3 separate regions of the Homo sapiens genome follow, and regions 1 and 3 are each linked to region 2. Evidence: promoter capture Hi-C in 16 types of primary human blood cells and fetal thymus (Javierre and others, 2016). All regions are on one chromosome and are shown on one strand. Each heading gives the region's core, a stretch centred on a gene start or on the middle of the fragment in contact. The rest is flanking DNA. Distances are from core to core; before and after follow the strand shown. Region 1 has its middle 18 kb from the start of ZNF792. Region 2 holds the start of SDHAF1 (succinate dehydrogenase complex assembly factor 1). Region 3 holds the start of ZNF792 (zinc finger protein 792).

What was found. Contacts are between HindIII fragments. The CHiCAGO score rates a contact against its expected background, and 5 or more counts as called.
Region 1: a fragment that was not itself captured here is called in contact with the fragment with the promoter of SDHAF1 in region 2 in 1 of 17 cell types (neutrophils); the score reaches 5.1 in neutrophils.
Region 3: a contact is called between the fragment with the promoter of ZNF792 here and the fragment with the promoter of SDHAF1 in region 2, in 6 of 17 cell types (activated CD4 T cells, monocytes, total CD4 T cells and 3 more). The highest score is 11.4, in activated CD4 T cells.

The regions. Positions count from the first base shown.
Region 1 is chr19:34,979,698-34,983,881 of GRCh38, forward strand. No RefSeq gene overlaps it. Among named protein-coding and RNA genes, the nearest start is that of ZNF792, 18 kb to the left of the region's middle. The HindIII fragment of the contact is 6,510 bases long and covers 1-4,184 here.
Region 2 is chr19:35,993,430-35,997,914 of GRCh38, forward strand. SDHAF1 (succinate dehydrogenase complex assembly factor 1) reads left to right here and starts at 1,759. Exons shown (of 1, transcript NM_001042631.3): 1 at 1,759-2,883. The coding sequence starts at 1,846. The coding sequence ends at 2,193. RefSeq lists enhancers at 722-1,221, 1,556-1,605, 1,866-1,945 and silencers at 2,006-2,065, 2,096-2,215. The HindIII fragment of the contact is 4,511 bases long and covers 1-2,904 here.
Region 3 is chr19:34,961,968-34,965,944 of GRCh38, forward strand. It overlaps ZNF792 (zinc finger protein 792), which reads right to left and starts at 2,262. Exons shown (of 4, transcript NM_175872.5): 1 at 1,663-2,262. The coding sequence starts at 1,695. LOC124904699 (a long non-coding RNA gene) reads left to right here and starts at 1,459. Exons shown (of 2, transcript XR_007067236.1): 1 at 1,459-1,706. RefSeq lists silencers at 1,604-1,653, 1,764-2,023. The HindIII fragment of the contact is 6,406 bases long and covers 1,398-3,977 here.

The sequences.
Region 1 (4,184 bases), core at 1,338-3,837, 1.0 Mb before region 2:
TTTGGTCAAAATTGCTGAGGATCAGGTCTGACTAGGAGCACCTAGTCTGGCTGGAGGCAGAGGTGGCCAGGAGCCGAGCACCAGGGGAGAGAGAGCTCTCAGCATGATGAGGAGAGCACCATCCAGTTTACATATTTCTTTCTGGAGGAATCTTCAAGTTCTCCCAACTTGATTCAGGACAGGTGACCCCCAAACTGGGGCTTAGCATGTGAGGGTTCTTGGCTTTGCTCAAGAAAGAATTCAAGGGTGAGCAGTATGGGCCAGTGGTAGGGTAGAAGAAAAGAGGCTCATTGAAGAAGCCGTGTTACAGCTCCATGACTGCTCCTGCAGAGCAGGACTACCCGGTCCCGTAGGCAGACAGCAGCAGCTCAGAGCAGTTCTGCAGTCAGATTTATGCTCACATTTAATTGCACGTAGATTAAGGGGCAGTTTATGCAGACATTTCTAGGGAAGGGGTAGTAGCTTTGGGGTCATTATATCATTGCCATGGAAAGGGGTGGTGACTCTCCGGTGTTGCCATGGCAATGGTAAACTGACATGGCGCACTGGTGGGTGTGTCTTATGGAAAACTGCTTCCCTCCCGTCCCTGTTTTAGCTAGTTCTCAGTTTGGTCAGGTGTCTGAGCCTCACCTCTGGAGTTGAGCCCACCTCCTACCTCACGGGTGTACTGCAGCCAGTGAGTGTCATTGAGTCCCTGCATATAACAAACAGACTCCGAGATCTGCCTTCACCCAGTGGCAGTTCATGACCTTTTGGACATGGTGCATAGATAGTGATAGAATAGAAAGGCAGTAACGTCATCCACTATGCATTGTCTTCGTTCTAATCACAAAATAAGTGTTTGAAAAATTAAGCATTATATTTTCAGGTGCCTTTCAAATTCTAGACCCAGCGTACATACATACATACATACATACATATATATATTATGCATAACACATCTATGTGCCGTATTTACTTTTTTTTTTTTTGAGATGAAGTCTCACTCTGTTGCCCAGGCTGGAGTGCAGTGGCGCCATCTCGGCTCATTGCAAGCTCCGCCTCCCAGGTTCAAGTGATTCTCCTGCCTCAGCCACCCGAGTAGCTAGGCATGTGCCACCCTGCCCAGCTAATTTTTGTATTTTTAGTAGAGATGGGGTTTCCCCATGTTGGCCAGGCTGGTCTTGATCTCCTGACCAGCCTCCCAAAGTGCTAGGATTACAGCATGAGCCACTGCGCCCAGCCTTTATTTACTTTATAACTGTACTTACCTTATGTAATGAGTATATATGAAGTAGTGCTAAAATATACATATTTAACATTTAAATATCATGCAGCATTAAAAGACATGGCTGGGTCCAGTGGCTCCCATCTGTAATTCCAGCACTTTGGGAGACCGGCAGGCAGACGGAATGAACCCAGGGTTTTGAGACCAGCCTGGGCAAGATGGTGAGACTCCATGCCTACAAACAATACAAAAATTAGCCAGGCATGGTGGCATGTGCCTGTAGTCCCAGCTACTCAAGAGGCTGGGGTGGGAGGATGGCTTGGGCATGGAAGACCAAGGCTGCAGTGAGCTGGGATGGCATCATTGCACTCCAGCCTGGGTGACAGAGCAAGACCCTGTCACAAAAAATAAATAAATAAACAAACAAACAATAAAAGACATATAAATAAATAACTGTCCTCTACCTTGCATCCACATCCCATAATCAATCATTTTCGTCTTTTGGCTCTTCTATTATTGCTTTATGTTGCTGAATAATTTGCATATTCTAATATCTCTTTTGCATTTTAATCAGTATTATTGAAGGATAGTTTATATACAATAAAATGTGTCTCTTTTTTGTTACTTATCGTTTTGAAACACCTGTATTCCACATGTGTTTATTAGGTGTTTACGATGCTCTAAAAGTGCATTACAAATAAGTCATCAAACCACTAGCTTAGCAAATTCACACAGGCATGTCAGCAGTGGGGAAAATAAAACAATTAATTATAATGTCCCATTAATAATATCCTGTAAATATCAAACACAACGCATTTTTTTTCTTTGTCCTCATTGCAAACTATACTGCCTAGGCCATCCGTAAACAAAAATTTTTGTGTGTATTATAAGTATTTCCATCAGTTTGGGATTCTTAAACTCAAAATTCTTGGCTCTACCAGTTGCAAACTTTTAAAATTTTAATTCTAATCAGTCATATAAATGCACAATAGCAAAAGTCAAAGAATTCAACAAGATTTCTAAACCCAGCAGCTCTCTTCTCTACTCCATGCCGTCCCACCCCATCCCCCTCTCCAGAATTAGCCACTCTCTCTTTTAGTGCATAGTTCTATTTTCATCTCCTTTTTTTTTTTTTTTTGAGTTGGAATTTCACTCTGTTGCCCAGGCTGTAGTGCAGCAGTGCCATCTCCGCTCACTGCAACCTCTGCCGCCCGGGTTCAAGCAATTCTCCAGCCTCAGCCTCTCAAGTAACTGGGATTACAGGCATGCACCGCCACACCAGGCTAATTTTTGTATTTTTAGTAGAGACAGGGTTTCACCGTGTTGGCCAGGCTGGTCTCGAACTCCTGACCTCAAGTGATCCGCCCATCTCAGCCTCCCAAAGTGCTGGAATTGCAGGCATGAGCCACTGTGCCCGGCTCCACGTTTATAAATAGCAGGTTTATATACAGTCTTGAATTTGAATGTTATATATTATCAACTTACTTTTTACTAGAAGATGATGAATTCGCTCTTTTCACTCCTCTCCCACACACATATTTCCTTCCCCCCCCTTCAATCCTCCCAGAATTGTCATGTCATGATTTTTATTAAGTTCACTGATTATGTTATGGAGATCAGGAAAATGTTAGAGATGAGCTATGTCGTGCGCTGTCCTTACATTTCTTTCTCATGCAAACTTTTTGCTTTTCTTTACAACTGTAGTTGAGATTTGTCCTTTTCTCTGCTTTGAATAATTTAAACTCCAATCTCTGTCCTTCTGCTCCAATCTATACTTTCTTCAAGCCAGCTGCATGATTCTCCTGCTGGGACTTCACTTCACCATCTAGTCATGTTGGTCCTCCATTTTCTCTTTCCTGGTTTACTCCCTTGTTTAGGGTGAAAATATCTTCCAGGAGCTTCCTGAGAAAGACTGTTTGGGAGGAAACTTTTTGAGACTTTGTTTGTCTGAAAATGTCTAACCCTGTTTCCACTTGAGTGATAATTTGATAGAAGTCCAGGTTAAACAGCAGTTTTTCCCCAGAGTGTCCAATGTCCTCCCACCTGTGATCCTTTGACTGTGATCTGTTTGGCTTTTTTTTTTTCTCTCTCTGGAAACCTCTAGAACTGATGTTCTGAAATATTATTACCATATTTTAACAATTGTGGAGCACTCTGCAGGCTCTTCAAATTTCTTTCAGTTATGGGGACATTTCTTTAATACTTTCTTCACTACTGGAGTTTCTGTTTTCTCTTTTTTGGAATTTCTGAATTTATCCTCTAATTTTCTTATATTGTCTCTTATTATCCACTTTTGTCTTTTATTCTGCTTTCCAGAAGTTTTCCTTTTAGTTTGTCATTGTTTTTTAGAGACAAATTCTCAGCGGCTGGGCACGGTGGCTCATGCCTGTAATCCCAGCACTTTGGGAGGCCGAGGCGGGCGGATCACAAGGTCAGGAGATCGAGACCATCCTGGCTAACGCGGTGAAACCCCTTCTCTACTAAAAATACAAAAAATTAGCCAGGCGTGGTGGTGGGCACCTGTGGTCCCAGCTACTCGGAAGGCTGAGGCAGGAGAATGGCGTGAACCCGGGAGGCGGAGCTTGCAGTGAGCCGAGATTGAGCCACTGCACTCCAGCCTGGGCGTCACAGAGAGACTCCATCTCAAAAAAAAAAAAAAAAAAAGAGACAAATTCTCGCTCTGTCACTCAGGCTGGAGTGCAGTGGCACTATCATAGCCCACTGCAGCCTCAAACTCCGGGGCTCAAGCAATCCTCCTGCCTCAGCCTCCCAAGTAGCTAGGACTGCAGGCTTGTACCACTTGTACCACCATGCCCTGTTAATTTTTTAATAGAGATAGGGTTTCACTATGTTGCCCAGGCTGATCTCAAACTCCTGGTCTTAAGAGATCCTCCCACTTTGGTCCCCAGTGTGGTGGTGTTGGGTGACGGGACTTTTAAGAGGTGATTTGGTCATTAAGAGAGACTGATGCCATTCT
Region 2 (4,485 bases), core at 509-3,008:
AAATAAATATTTAAAATTCCAGAGTGAAGCCTGGGCAACACAGCGAGACTCTGTCTCTACAAAAAACAATAAAAGAAGAATTAGCCGGGTGTGGTGGGATGTTCACGTAATCCTAACCACTGGACATGTTGAGGCGAGAGGATTGCTTGATCCCAGGAGATCAAGGCTGTAGTTTCACCAATATGGTGAAACCCCGCCTCTACTAAAAATACAAAAATTAGCCCAGTGTGCTGGCACATACCTGTAATTCCAGCTACTGGGGAGGCTGAGGTAGGGAGAATCACTTGAACCTAGAGGCAGAAGTTTCACCATGTGGATCAGGCTGGTGTCGATCTCCCGACCTCAGGTGGTCCGCCCGCCTCGGCCTCCAAAAGTGCTGGAATTACAGGTGTGAGCCACCGTTCTAGGACATGTATTTTTGATAGATACATACACCTGCCAGGCAGGATTCACAGTGGTTTGTGATTCTCCCCTGACTCCAAGACTCCAAGCCTAATCCCCGCCCCTGACCAGCTTCTCCTCTCTGAAGGGGAATGGACCCCCCAGCTGGTTGCCGGCCCAAGTGTGCAGAGCCGCGGTTGCGCGCTGGGTGGAGGGGTCCCCCAAGCTCCGGTGCTGGTGGGGCCCGAGGATGCTGTGTCCTTGCGGGCCTCCCTAGCGCTACGAGGACACCTCCAGGCGGCCCGCGGGGACAACAACGGCATTGCGGCCTACCACCTAAAGCTCCTGGGAGGACAACGGGGTTGCAGTCTAGTCGACTGTTCAGGGTGTCCCGGACTCCGGGCTTTAACAGTCGGTAAGGACCCAAACACCGCTGTCCACTGCCCCGACTCCCACCCGCAGAGGGCGCGACCAACCCAGCTCCTAGAGCCACACGCTGCCTCTGGGGGCTTGGCGCCCACACTCTCTCTGCTTGTCTTCCCCTGGCCCGAGAAGCCTGTCCAACCGGCCGAGAGCCATTTCCCTACGGGGTCTCGTCCCTCTGCACGTGCCCAGGGCTGGGACCCCAGACACAGACCTGCCCCGGACGAGGGAACGCACGGAGCTTCCCAAGATGGTTTGAATCAGTAACTGACGGCAAAAGCACGCTTGTGCCCGGCGTCTCTCCCAGTGCCCCGTGCCCTTGGGACCCAAAGTCCGAACCGGTAGCCGGGCGCGGTGGCTCACGCCTGGAATCCCAACACTTTGGGAGGCTGAGAATCGTTTGAGCCCAGGAGTTCGAGCCATTCTGGGCAACATAGGGAGACCCATCTCTGCAAATAATAATAATAATAAATAAATAAATAAATAAATAAATAAATAAATAAATAGCGGGCGCGGTTGCGCGCGTCTGTGGTTCCAGCTACTAGGGGAGTTGAGGTGGGAGGATCGCTTGGGCCCAGGAGTTCGAGGCTGCAGTGAGCCAAGATCGCGCCACTGCACTCCAGCCTGGGCGACAGCGAGACCCCGTCACACACAAAAAAACCCCTAGCTTCCTCTTCTCCCAGAATGCAGGAGTTAGGTGAGGACCCTCTGTTCCCTCCAACCCAAGACCTAGGAGTCCGAACACATAACGCCCTCCAGGCGGTGCCAGGATCCCCAGAACTGCTGTCCCCTCAAGAACACACGTCCCCTACGTGGGAGGCCGCGACCAGCGACTCCGCCCACTTCTCCCAGCCGGCTGTTACGTAACTGCAACGACAGCCAGTCAGACGCGGCAGCGCCGGATGGCGGGAGGCGGGAGTTGGAGGCCAAGGGAAGCGCTGGGCGGAAGTGGCTGTGGCTTTGCCCTTTGGCCTTTGCTGGCTGTGTGGCGGCTCCGCGGTTCGCAGGTCGTTCGCTGAGCGTCTCTGCTTAGCCGCGGTCATGAGCCGGCACAGCCGGCTGCAGAGGCAGGTTCTGAGCCTGTACCGCGATCTGCTGCGCGCCGGGCGTGGGAAGCCGGGCGCCGAGGCGCGAGTGCGGGCAGAGTTCCGGCAGCATGCGGGCCTGCCGCGGTCCGACGTGCTGCGCATCGAGTACCTGTACCGCCGCGGGCGGCGCCAGCTGCAGCTGCTACGCTCGGGCCACGCCACCGCCATGGGCGCCTTCGTACGCCCGCGGGCCCCGACCGGGGAGCCTGGCGGCGTGGGTTGCCAGCCTGACGACGGCGACAGTCCAAGGAACCCCCACGACAGCACGGGGGCACCGGAGACCCGCCCCGACGGACGGTGACAGGCGAAGAGCCGAACTCGCTCGATGGCGTGGTGGAGCCAGGAGGCTCGCCTGACTGCATGGGGGGACTGGGGAACCCGCCTAAGGTGAGAGGTCTTAAGAGACTAGCTTGACGAATTGGGGATGTCAGAGACTCCTCCTTGGCGACGCAGGGGGCCTAGAGAGCCCCGTGATGGACGGCAAGGGAGGCCCGCCTTTTCCGATGCTTGGAGACAGGTCGGTGCTCCTCCCCCATGAGGGCTTGGGGCGGCCTGGGACGCTGGCGGGCTGGACAGTGTCAAGCCAAGAGCTACTTGCCCGAAGGTACGGGGAGCCAGGACGACCCCCGGTGGACAGGGAGAGCCTGAGACGCCCTTCTCTTGACCCCTGAGAACATACCCACTTCTGGCTCCTCAAGGAGTCTCCCCTCTCCTGTATTTAACTCTGAGAAGTGCAGACTTTTTGCTGAGAACGTTTTGGGAAGGTGCCCTGATGAGCGGTGAGAAGCCCGGAATCCCCTTCTGGAAAACTTTCCCCCATTAATTGTGACAAGCCAGGACCATGAGGAAGGGGTAGGGGTCTATCACCCTGGTTGATCAACTGAAGACCCCCAAAGGCCCCTACTTGATGGTTTTGAGGGGCAACATTGACTCATTTGCCCCTTCCCTCTCGGAATGTTGGACAAAGGGAATAAAATTGGGGATATGTCTACTTCCCTGTTGGTGGTCTTAAAGCTTTTATATATTTCAGGATTTTTGAAACACCCCCAGCCCCCCTGCCACCACACACACACGCACACAGACACCTGGAAGGGACCATCTGGGAGGTGATAGGTGTGGGGATCTGACTCCTTCCGGAGCCCTGTAGACTGGCACATTGATTGAAGCGGCATAGTTTTCTCCCCTGGGCAGATCTGTGGAGGGGGCTCATCCTGGCTTAACCCCCAAAGATACCCCAGTTGGCTCCCTAATGGAGGGCAAGTGATTTAACATCTTTGTGTGGAAGAGGAAATGGTGGAGCTGAGAACTGGCTCGGAGCCCCTGAGGCAGTAGTGAGGGTCTCAGACCTGGAAATTTCTCAAACCTGGCTGAAGGGTCCAGCCTCAGCTACAGTGAACGACAAGGCCCTGGGGCAGGAGAGGGGAGATGAACCCCATAGATCACAGATATACTCCCTCCGGTGTCCCCATATGGGCCTGCCCTAGACATTCTGTGGAGGGATGCATTTTGCATCGCTGAGCTATATTTGCACCCATATCAGTTAAATAAGTGGAAATGAGTTCTTGTGGATGTAGCTGTGGGTAGGAGGACCACAGGTAAGGAGCATAGACCTCAGACCAAAGGGAGGATGGACGGAAGAGAAACAGTCACTGCCCTAATCCCGGTGGGGGAGCCACATTCCCAAATGGTTATAAAGTGGAATTGCAGTTTGAAGAATTAATTGCCGGGATAGGCTTCTAGGCAAGAAGACCAAGGCTGGGCGCAGTGGCTCACTCCTGTAATCCCAGCACTTTTGGAGGCCAAGATGGGCGGATCACGAGGTCAGGAGTTCCAGACCAGCCTGGCCAATATGGTGAAACCCCGTCTCTACTAAAAATACAAAAATTAGCCAGGCGTGGTGGTGGGCACCTGTAATCCCAGCTACTCAGGAGGCTAAGGCAGGAGAATCGCTTGAACCCTGGAGGCAGAGGTTGCAATGAGCCAAGATCACGCCACTGCACTCCAGCCTGGGCGACAGAGCGAAACTACGTCTCAAAAAAAAAAAAAGACCAGTGTGGGGAAAGGCCTGGAGGGGGCAAAGGGAAGAAATGCAGGGTCTCAGGATCTCAGCTGGGGCCCGGAGTGCCCCAGGCACAAGGCTGTGGGTTTACTTGATTGTGGCTTCTACTTCTGCTTTGTCTCAGGTTTGTCCTCACCATGGGACTTCAGCCACCTCATTCATCTCTCTCAGCCTCAATTTCTTCCATCAGGGTGATCATGTTAGTCATCTCCTGGCTCCATCTCAAAAGCCAAAGACCAGTGGGGTCCTACTCATCCAGCCCCCCAATTACATCTTCAGCTGCATCTCCTGCCACCCCCTCACTCCTGGCTCCATGATCTTGAGCCCTGACAAGCCCCAGGATTGGAGCTCCTGGCAGGGCTGCAGGCAGGGATCGAGTTTTCAATGGGGTCTGGCATCCTGGGTCAGGAGAGAAGTCACATTAACCTGGGTGTTAACAGATGAATGAGATTTTCCCGGTAGAGAGGATGGAGGAATGCCTGATTTGAGGGAGGAGCTGTGCAGATGAATAGTGGCTAAGAGCACGGACCCGGG
Region 3 (3,977 bases), core at 1,012-3,511, 1.0 Mb before region 2:
ATGATCTGGCCACCTGCCAGACCCTCTGATACACCCACATAGCCCCTCCATCACCACCATGACCACTACTGTTCCTCACCTGTCTTTATGATGCCAAACAAGCCACAGTCCCCAAGCAAGAACCCTGCTCTCAGTTTTCCAGCCCCACCTTCCTCTTTTTTTTAACATCATTGTCACCATGACCTGAAGTTTCACCTCCTAAATCTCACACACAGCTACACTCCCGTCCACACACCAGATGTCACATTTTGGATGTTTCTAACTGTTGAAATAAACAAAGACCAATGAAATGAGAAAAGCCAAGGCTACTTACTCAAAGCTCACTATAGCAAGAGAGACTCAATGCAAGCCGGGAGTGGGAGAGTTTTATAGCAAAAGAAAAGGAAGGCTTCAGGCGTGCCCTGGTTGGAGGCTCCTGTTCGTAGGTGGGTGAACTAGAAGTGGGCATCCTATGTGATTGGTTAGGGTGCGTATCTGCCTTTCTCTGGTTGTTCTTAAATCAGAAGCAGGAGCAAAAATGAGGAAAGCTGTCTGTTATTAATCAAACCCTGGCCATTTGGGACTGCTCATTACAGAAGTTATTGTTTTTACTTCCTGGATTGTCAGTCCAGATAGCAATCTGGCTTCCTGTGGGTCTGACAGACAGCAGGCTGGCTTCCTGCTGTATGGGTTGTTTATTGTAGATAAGGGGGTTGGTTTCCTGGGCAGGTTCTGGGGCAGAGTTCTATTTGTATACATGATCTGGCCATTGTTCGAATGAATATCCAGTCTCTCATTACCTTAACAACTCCCTCAGAACACCCGAACTGTGTGTTCAGCGGCCCACTCTTCAACTCCATTTGGGGGTCTCTGGGACATCACAGGCTCAACTTGGCCAAAACCTAACTTCTACTGCTTCCATGGAAAATTCCTCCTAAAACCAACTTCTCAGTTCATAAAGCTGGATTCATCAAACCAAAAACCATGGATTCTTCCCTCCTCTTTCTCACCCTCCACATCGGAAAATTTGGTCAGCTTGACTTAAAAGACATCAAGTTCCCAATCACTTCCTCTACCTCCAGTCCTCACTCTGGTCCGGCCAGCCGCAGCACTGGCCTGGGCTATTCCATTAGGCTACTCCTTGGCATCCCTGCTTGCGGCTCACTCCATATTCAGTTCTCCACTGTGCATCCACAGGGAGCCTGTTAAGACCTGAGTCACAGCATCTTCCTCCTCTGCCCTAAACCTTCCATGGCTCCCAACACCCTCAGAACAGAGGCCCAGCTCTGCCGTTCTGAGCTGTCTTCAGCCCACCTGCTCTCTGGTTCCAGCAGACATAATATTAATAACACTGACCTGGGTGGGGTTCCTTGAACACTCCCAACTCAGTCTCCACACCGTGCCCCACCCCACCCCCAAGCTTTTGCGCACGCTGGTTCCTGTGCCTACAAAGCCCTTTCTCCCTCCATCCCATTACATTTCAGCAACGGAAGCCACTTTATATAAACCCTGCCCTGATTCAGGATCCTAGCTGGGAGCAACTCCCTTCCAGGGTCCCCTGACTCAAAAGCAAGGAAATGGGAAAGGCGAAAAGTCCTAGAACAAAGCCATCTTTTGCGTCTCAACACCGAGAACAGAAGCGTGGGGGGCCGACAGCGAAGGGCCTAACGTCCAAGCACTCACCTGCGCGGGGTCCCGCAGCGCCGCCGCTGCCATCGGAGTCTGTGGTCAGAGCAGGGCCCCACGGTGCGGGAAACCACGGGGCGGGGGTAGGGGGTCTCGCAGGCTGAGGCTACCACCCACCTGGCCGTGCCCCAGACGAGGTGTGACCCCGGGCTGAGGGTCGCACTCCTAGCCTCAGTCTCCCCCGTGCAAAATGCGCAAGGGGCCCGGGGCGCAGGCTCCGGGGGCGCCGAGAGCGCGCAGCTCCGCTGGGTACCCCCGTTGCAAGGGGTCACGGCTGGTGCAAAGGCGCGGAGGGGGTCCCGGCCTCACTGTCCCCCTCGCGGTCCGGGAAAGCCGGCGGGGCAGCTTCACGGGCGTAGCCCCAGCCGCCCCGCCCCCAACTCGGGGTCCCCAGCTCCTGGGGACTCAGCCTCCCCGCCGGGAAATGACCTGCGAGGCTGCAGTGCAGGAAGTTCCGGCCCCCACCGTGGCGGCCGGGAGAGTTGCCCTCTCCCGTACTGTCATTGGCCTGGCGCCAGCCGCTGGTGCACAGGCAGGGCCTGGGGATCGCGAGTTTCTGCCCAGCCTCTCGTCAGGCTGAGGGTCCAGGGCGGGAAGGAGAGCGGATCTCGTCGGGTCTCCACCGCCGCCGCCTGCAGCCCTCGGGCCTTCCCCTTAAAGGGGCCGCTCCCGAGCCTGCAGCCGCCCGCGCTAAACCCCGCCCACCCTCCGAGGTCCAGGAGGAGAGCCCCAGTGCTCTTCCTGCGCGTGTGGGCATCGGCCAGCCGCTTCACCCCTAAGGGACCTAAATTCACACTGGAAAATGGGGATAGTACCCAATGGGCGGGGTCTTTGCGTTGTAATATTAAATGTCGCTCTGATTCAGGGCTTCTCAAACCAGCAACATCAGCATCACCTGGGGACTGGCTGAAAATGCAGGTTCTGGGGCAACAACTTAAATCTAAGGACTCAGAAATTCTGGGGATGGGATTCAGCCTTCTCTACTTTTTGCGGGGGGGGCGGGGGGGATGGGTCTCGTTCTGTTGTCCAGGCTGGAGTGCAGTGGCCTGATCATAGCTCACTGCAGCCTCCATCTCGGGCTCAAGCTATCCTCCTGCCTCAGCCTACCAGGTAGATGGGATACAGGCGTGCACCATCATACACAGCTAATTTTAAAATTTTTTGTAGAGACTGGATCTCCCTGTGATGCCTAGGCTGGTCTCAAACTCCTGAGCTCAAGTGATCCTCTCACCTCGGCCTCCCAAAGTGTTGGGAATTGCAGGAGTGAGCCATGGTGCCAGGCCTCCTTCTCTGTTTTAACAAGCCCTCTGGGGACTCCAATGCTGGCTCCAACTTTACAGCAGGGACTCTCATTGAAATCCAGTAAATAAAATGGGAAAAATAACACTACATTGTTGCAGGAAGTCAGGGACCCCGAACGGAGGGACCTGCTGAAGCCGTGACAGAAGAACATTAATTGTGAAGATTTCATGGACATTTATTAGTTCCCCAAATTAATACTTTTATAATTTCTTATGCCTGTCTTTACTGCAATCTCTGAACATAAATTGTGAAGATTTCATGGACATGTATCGCTTCCCCAATCAATACTCTTGTGATTTCCTATGCCTGACTTTACTTTAATCTCTTAATCCTGTCATCTTCGTAAGCTGAGGATGTATGTCATCTCAGGACCCTGTGATGATTGCGTTAACTGCACAGATTGTTTGTAGGGCATGTGTGTTTGAACAATATGAAATCTGGGCACCTTAAGAACAGGATAACAGCGATTTTCAGGGAACAAGGGAGATAACCTTAAAGTCTGGCTGCCTGTGGGACGGGCAGGACAGAGCCATATTTCTCCTATTACCAAAAACGGGTAAGAGAAATATCGCTGAATTCTTTCCCCAGTAAGGAATATTAATAATTAACAGCCCTGGGAAAATAATGCATTCCCAGGGCAGTGCCTCTAAAATGGCTGCCCTGGGAGTGTCTGCCTTATGCACATGTAGATAGGGATGAAACACACCCTAGTCTCCTGCAGCGCCCCCAGGCTTGCTAGGATTAGGAAATTCCAGCCTGGCGAACTCTAGTCAGACCAGTTCTCTGCTCTTGAACCCTGTTAAGATGTTTATAAATGACAATGCGTGCACAGCAGGACATGGAAGCTCATGAGTGATTCTAGTTTTGCCCTGACCTTGTGATCTCGCCCTGACCTTCTGCCTTGTGATCTTTTGTTGCCCTTAAAGCATGTGATCTCTGTGACCCACACCCTATTCGTACACTCCCTCCCCTTTGAAAATTGCCAATAAAAACTTGCTGGTTTTATGGCT